Linked DNA regions of Homo sapiens: region 1 is linked to region 2. The links are contacts of gene promoters, found by promoter capture Hi-C in human tissues and cell types (Jung and others, 2019). All regions are on one chromosome and are shown on one strand. The core of a region is centred on a gene start or on the middle of the fragment in contact, and the rest is flanking DNA. Distances in the headings are between cores, read along the strand shown. Region 1 has its middle 13 kb from the start of TNFRSF8. Region 2 holds the start of NPPA (natriuretic peptide A).

Region 1 (3,158 bases), core at 305-2,804, 200 kb before region 2:
TGCTCACCTGCGGTCCCAGCTGCCTGGGAGGCTGAGGCGGGAGAATTGCTTAAACCCAGGAAATCGAGGCTGCAGTGAGCTAGGATTGCACCACTGCACTCCAGGCTGGGTGACAGAGTGAGACTCTGTTTAAAAACAAAAAAAAAAAAAAGCTGTATTAATAAAATGTAATTAGAGGTATCCAGGTGTTGGGGGAAAAAAGCATTTGGTAAAGTCAGAGAAAGCTGGGTTCAAATCCCACCTCTTACTGCAGCCACAGCTGAGCAACTTGGAGCCAGCTGGTTAACCACCCTGGGCCTTGCCTTTCTTATCCATCAAATGGAAATAACAATGGCACTGACATCACAGACTTATGCAAAGATCTGAGATGCTAAATGCTTGGCACAGGAAGCTCCAGGATACCCAGCTATAATACCACAAAGACAGGGATCTATTCTAAATTTGTGGCCATCTAGTCAGGGCCCGGCCACAGGACAAATGAGGCCACCATTTTGCCTCCAGGCCCCCAGGTCTCCTGGGCCTCAGATGCCGGAGCACAAAGCCTCACTGTATTTGCACCTGGTTCACGCAGCCCCCTGGAGGCTCTGGACTTGAGAAGGCAAGCTCCCTGAGGGCAGGGAGTTTCTCAATGCTAGTTTCTCAATGCTTTATTACCAGGGCTTGGCATAATAAATATTTATTGAATTAATAAATAGAGCAGGCCGGGCACAGTGGTTCACGCCTGTAATCCCAGCACTTTGGGAGGCCGAGGCGGGCTGATCACTTAAGGTCAGGAGTTCGAGACCAGCCTTGCCAACATGGTGAAACCCCGTCTCTACTAAAAATGCAAAAAAAAAAATTAGCTGGGAGTGGTGGTGGGTGCCTGTAATCCCAGCTAATCGGGAGGCTGAGGCAGGAGAATCGCTTGAACCCAGGAGGCAGAGGTTGCAGTGAGCTGAGATTGCGCCACTGCAGAGCGAGACTCCATCTCAAAAAAAAAAAAAAGAATATAACCATCTCAAATTAAAAATAATAATAGGCTGGGCACGGTGGCTTACCCCTGTAATCCTAGCACTTTGGGAGGCTGAGGCAGGTGGATTACTTAAGGTCAGGAGTTTGAAACCAGCCTGGCCAACATGGTGAAACGCCGTTTCTAATAAAAATATAAAAAAATTAGCTGGGTGTGGTGGTGGGCACCTGTATTCCCAGCTAATCAGGAGGCTGAGGCAGGAGAATTGCTTGAACCTGGGAGGCAGAGGTTGCAGTGAGCCGAGATTGTGCCACTGCACTCCGGCCTGGGCAATAGAGAGAGATTCAGTCTCAAAATAATAATAATTTTTCAAGCAATTAGTTCGGCTTGCCACATTCTGATAGATTCAGATGCTAAGGAGACAATGAGCCCAGCTAGATTTAAAGGGTTTACTACTGGCCGGGCAGGGTGGCTCATGCCTATAATCCCAGCAATTTGGGAGGCCAAGGTGGGCAGATCCCTTGAGCCCAGGAGCTGCCCATCCTGGGCAACAAAGTGAGACTCCTCATCTCTACAAAAAAAAAAAAAAAAAATTAGCCGGGTGTGGTGGCATACTCCTGTAGTCCCAGCTACTCGGGGGACTGAGGTGGGAGGACGGCCTGAGCCCAGGAGGTCGAGGCTGTAGTGAGCCATGATCGCACCACTGCCCTCCAGCCTGGGTGACACAGCAAGACCCTGTCTAGAAAAAATAAAATGAGGGTCTACTACCTGCAGCCCTGCACATAGCATGAGCACTGAATTTGCATTGCTTGCCCTTGCCCTTGCCCTTAACATCCCTTCACGTAGGGTGAGGAACCAGCCCAGGCTGGTGCTGAGCACACACCATGGGAGACCCCCAATCTCATTAGGGGCTGCTGGCAAACCTATTCAACCTCTGTCCTGAGAAGACATTGTCTTTATCACCCTGGAATAGCCATCTCCCTAGGGGACGGGAGGGAGTCCTTACTGTCCTGGAAAGTAAATACATTTGCTCGCTAGCCCAGTGGGAGATGCTACCTCCAGCTTCCAAGACTGTTTGCTATGCAAACAATAATCATGGCTATCATTGATCAGCAGCTCCTAGGTGCCTACCAGCCATTGCAATAGCAGTCCCTGTATTAGTCCACTAGGGCTGAGTATAACAGAACAACACACGTTGGAGGGCTTAAGCAACAGAAATTTATTTCCTTTTTTTTTTTTCTTTCGAGACAAAGTCTCACTCTTGTCACCCAGGCTGGAGTGCAATGGCACAATCTTTGCTCACTGCAGCTTCTGTCTCCCGGGTTCAAGCAATTATCCTGCCTCAGCCTCCCGAGTAGCTAGGATTACAGGCATGTGCCACCACACCTGGCTAATTTTTGTATTTTTAGTAGAGACGGGGTTTTACCATGTTGCCAGGCTGGTCTCAAACTCCTGACCTCAGGTGATCCACCCGCCTTGGCCTCCCAAAGTGCTGGGATTACAGGAGTGAGCCACCACGCCCAGCCCAGAAATTTATTTTCTTATCATTCTCAAGGCTGTGAATCTGAGAGTAAGGTGTCAGCAGATTTGCTTTTTCCTCAGGTCTCGCTCCTTGACTTGAGGACATCACCTTCTTGCTATGTCCTTGAGGGGCCTTTTCTCTGCGTGTGCATTCCTGGTGTCCTTTTCTCTTCTTAGGAGTGTGATAATCCCATTAGCTGAAAGCCCCACCCTTAGGACCTCGCTTAACCTTAATTACCTTTTTAAAGGTCCTGTCTTGGCCAGGCGCGGTGGCTCACGCCTGTAATCCCAACACTTTGGGAGGCCGAGGCGGGCGGATCACAAGGTCAGGAGTTTGAGACCACCCTGACCAACATGGTGAAACCCTGTCTCTACTAAAAATACAAACATTAGCCGGGCTTGTTGGCACGTGCCTATAATCCCAGCTTCTGGGGAGGTCAAGGCAGGAGAATCATTTGAACCCGGGAGGCGGAGGTTGCAGTGAGCCGAGATCATGCCACTGCACTCCAGCCTGGATGACAGAGAAAGACTTCGTCTTAAAAAAACAAAAACAAAAATGAAAACAAAAACCAAAAAGAGGCCCTGTCTCATTGGGGGTTAGGGCTTCAACCTATGAATTTGGGGGGCATGAACTTGGCAGGGAGAAGCAGGCACAGTTCAGTCCATAACGGCTCTTCTCCACATGAGT
Region 2 (3,257 bases), core at 356-2,855:
TCTCAGCTCACTTGGGCTCCACAACAATCCTGCAAGGTAGGCAGGGAAGATTTCTACTTTATTCATTCATTTATTTATTTATTTTTTGAGACCGAGTCCCACTCTGTTGCCCAGGCTAGAGTGCAGTGGTGCGATCTTGGTTCACTACAACCTCCGCCTCCCAAGGTCAAGCAATTCTTTTACCTCAGCCTCCCTAGTAGCGGGGATTACAGGCACATGCCACCACACCCAGCTAATTTTTATATTTTTAGTAGAGACAGAGTTTTGCCATGTTGGTAGGGCTGGTCTCAAACTCCTGGCCTCAGGTGATCCACCCACCTTAGCCTCCCAAAGTGCTGGGATTATACGTGTGAGCCACTGCACCCGGCCGGTTTTTAACATTCTTTCTCATTTTACACACAAGGAAAGTAAGGCTGCGAAGAGGTATGCAACTGGTTTGTTTTGGGCTACAGTACTGGTCTCTCAGCCCTTCAAATTTAGAGTTTTCCCCCAGTATACGTTGCATTGAATGGTAATGGCTAACACTGAGTTCAGTGCTTAGCAAACAGGCCATTCATTAAACATAGACAGACTTGCTGCCTGTTATTTCCCTTTTGGGGGCCAGGGAAATTGTGACCTTGGTGGCTCGGTCACTTGCCACTTGCCACGTCCTCAGGGAAGGATGTAGAAGGCATTGAGGGAAACTGACTATACCTCCTTCACCCCCACCTCCCTTCCTCCATCGGTCAAGTTGCCACGGGCACAAGCCCAGGAAGGGCAGGGGGATGTTAACAAACTTCAGACACGAAGAGTCTGAGCATCTATAAACAGCAACGGAAGAAATGAAATTGGCTGCGTCCTCTAAGCCTGTCCCCGCAGCATGCTGGAGGAGGGTCGCGGGGGACATGGAAGAGGAGGAGCTTTGGAGAGAGGATGCTTGTGCTCCCCCGCCTTTTCTTGCTATTTCTATTTGGGGGTTGGATTCCTGGGAGCTTCATCACATTTGGTTCTCAGCTGACTTTATATACTAAAAAATAACTTCCTTTCGCCTGACCATGGAGAGGGACTGCCAGGGGTGAAGGCAGCCCTGTCTGAGGCCAGAGGTCTGCCCACGTGGCGGATGAGGCAGGTGTGAGGCCAGCTTGAGCATCTGGATCCATTTGTCTCGGGCTGCTGGCTGCCTGCCATTTCCTCCTCTCCACCCTTATTTGGAGGCCCTGACAGCTGAGCCACAAACAAACCAGGGGAGCTGGGCACCAGCCAAGCGTCACCCTCTGTTTCCCCGCACGGGTACCAGCGTCGAGGAGAAAGAATCCTGAGGCACGGCGGTGAGATAACCAAGGACTCTTTTTTACTCTTCTCACACCTTTGAAGTGGGAGCCTCTTGAGTCAAATCAGTAAGAATGCGGCTCTTGCAGCTGAGGGTCTGGGGGGCTGTTGGGGCTGCCCAAGGCAGAGAGGGGCTGTGACAAGCCCTGCGGGATGATAACTTTAAAAGGGCATCTCCTGCTGGCTTCTCACTTGGCAGCTTTATCACTGCAAGTGACAGAATGGGGAGGGTTCTGTCTCTCCTGCGTGCTTGGAGAGCTGGGGGGCTATAAAAAGAGGCGGCACTGGGCAGCTGGGAGACAGGGACAGACGTAGGCCAAGAGAGGGGAACCAGAGAGGAACCAGAGGGGAGAGACAGAGCAGCAAGCAGTGGATTGCTCCTTGACGACGCCAGCATGAGCTCCTTCTCCACCACCACCGTGAGCTTCCTCCTTTTACTGGCATTCCAGCTCCTAGGTCAGACCAGAGCTAATCCCATGTACAATGCCGTGTCCAACGCAGACCTGATGGATTTCAAGGTAGGGCCAGGAAAGCGGGTGCAGTCTGGGGCCAGGGGGCTTTCTGATGCTGTGCTCACTCCTCTTGATTTCCTCCAAGTCAGTGAGGTTTATCCCTTTCCCTGTATTTTCCTTTTCTAAAGAATTTGCTGGACCATTTGGAAGAAAAGATGCCTTTAGAAGATGAGGTCGTGCCCCCACAAGTGCTCAGTGAGCCGAATGAAGAAGCGGGGGCTGCTCTCAGCCCCCTCCCTGAGGTGCCTCCCTGGACCGGGGAAGTCAGCCCAGCCCAGAGAGATGGAGGTGCCCTCGGGCGGGGCCCCTGGGACTCCTCTGATCGATCTGCCCTCCTAAAAAGCAAGCTGAGGGCGCTGCTCACTGCCCCTCGGAGCCTGCGGAGATCCAGCTGCTTCGGGGGCAGGATGGACAGGATTGGAGCCCAGAGCGGACTGGGCTGTAACAGCTTCCGGGTAAGAGGAACTGGGGATGGAAATGGGATGGGATGGACACTACTGGGAGACACCTTCAGCAGGAAAGGGACCAATGCAGAAGCTCATTCCCTCTCAAGTTTCTGCCCCAACACCCAGAGTGCCCCATGGGTGTCAGGACATGCCATCTATTGTCCTTAGCTAGTCTGCTGAGAAAATGCTTAAAAAAAAAAGGGGGGGGGGCTGGGCACAGTGGCTCACGCCTGTAATCCCAGCACTTTGGGAGGCCGAGGCAGGCGGATCATGAGGTCAAGAGATCAAGACTATCCTGGCCAACATGGTGAAACCCCAGCTCTACTAAAAATACAAAAATTAGCTGGGTGTGGTGGCGGGCACCTGTACTCTCAGCTACTTGGGAGGCTGAGGCAGGAGAATCACTTGAACCCAGGAGGCAGAGGTTGCAGTGAGCAGAGATCACGCCACTGCAGTCCAGCCTAGGTGATAGAGCGAGACTGTCTCAAAAAAAAAAAAAAAAGGCCAGGCACGGTGGCTCACGCCTGTAATCCCAGCGCTTTGGGAGGCCAAGGCGGGTGGATCACGAGGTCAGGAGATGGAGACCATCCTGGCTAACACGGTGAAACCCCGTCTCTACTAAAAATACAAAAAATTAGCCAGGCGTGGTGGCAGGCGCCTGTAAGTCCTAGCTACTCCGGAGGCTGAGGCAGGAGAATGGCGTGAACCCGGGAGGCGGAGCTTGCAGTGAGCAGAGATGGCACCACTGCACTCCAGCCTGGGCGACAGAGCAAGACTCCGTCTCAAAAAAAAAAAAAAAAAAAGCAACTGCCACTAGCACTGGGAAATTAAAATATTCATAGAGCCAAGTTATCTTTGCATGGCTGATTAGCAGTTCATATTCCTCCCCAGAATTGCAAGATCCTGAAGGGCTTAAGTGAAATTTACTCTGATGAGTAACTTGCTTATCAATTCATGAAGCTCAGAGGGTCATCAGGCTGGGGTGGGGGCC

The links. The method cuts DNA at HindIII sites, captures the fragments that hold promoters and counts their contacts. A contact is called where the count stands out against the background at its distance.
Region 1: a contact is called between a fragment that was not itself captured here and the fragment with the promoter of NPPA in region 2, in 1 of the 25 tissues and cell types used here (spleen).

What each region holds. Positions count from the first base shown.
Region 1 is chr1:12,048,702-12,051,859 of GRCh38, reverse strand. No RefSeq gene overlaps it. Among named protein-coding and RNA genes, the nearest start is that of TNFRSF8, 13 kb to the left of the region's middle. The HindIII fragment of the contact is 8,815 bases long and covers 1-3,158 here.
Region 2 is chr1:11,846,131-11,849,387 of GRCh38, reverse strand. NPPA (natriuretic peptide A) reads left to right here and starts at 1,605. Exons shown (of 3, transcript NM_006172.4): 1 at 1,605-1,826; 2 at 1,949-2,275. The coding sequence starts at 1,704. It also overlaps NPPA-AS1. RefSeq lists an enhancer at 779-2,569. The HindIII fragment of the contact is 8,124 bases long and covers 1-1,867 here.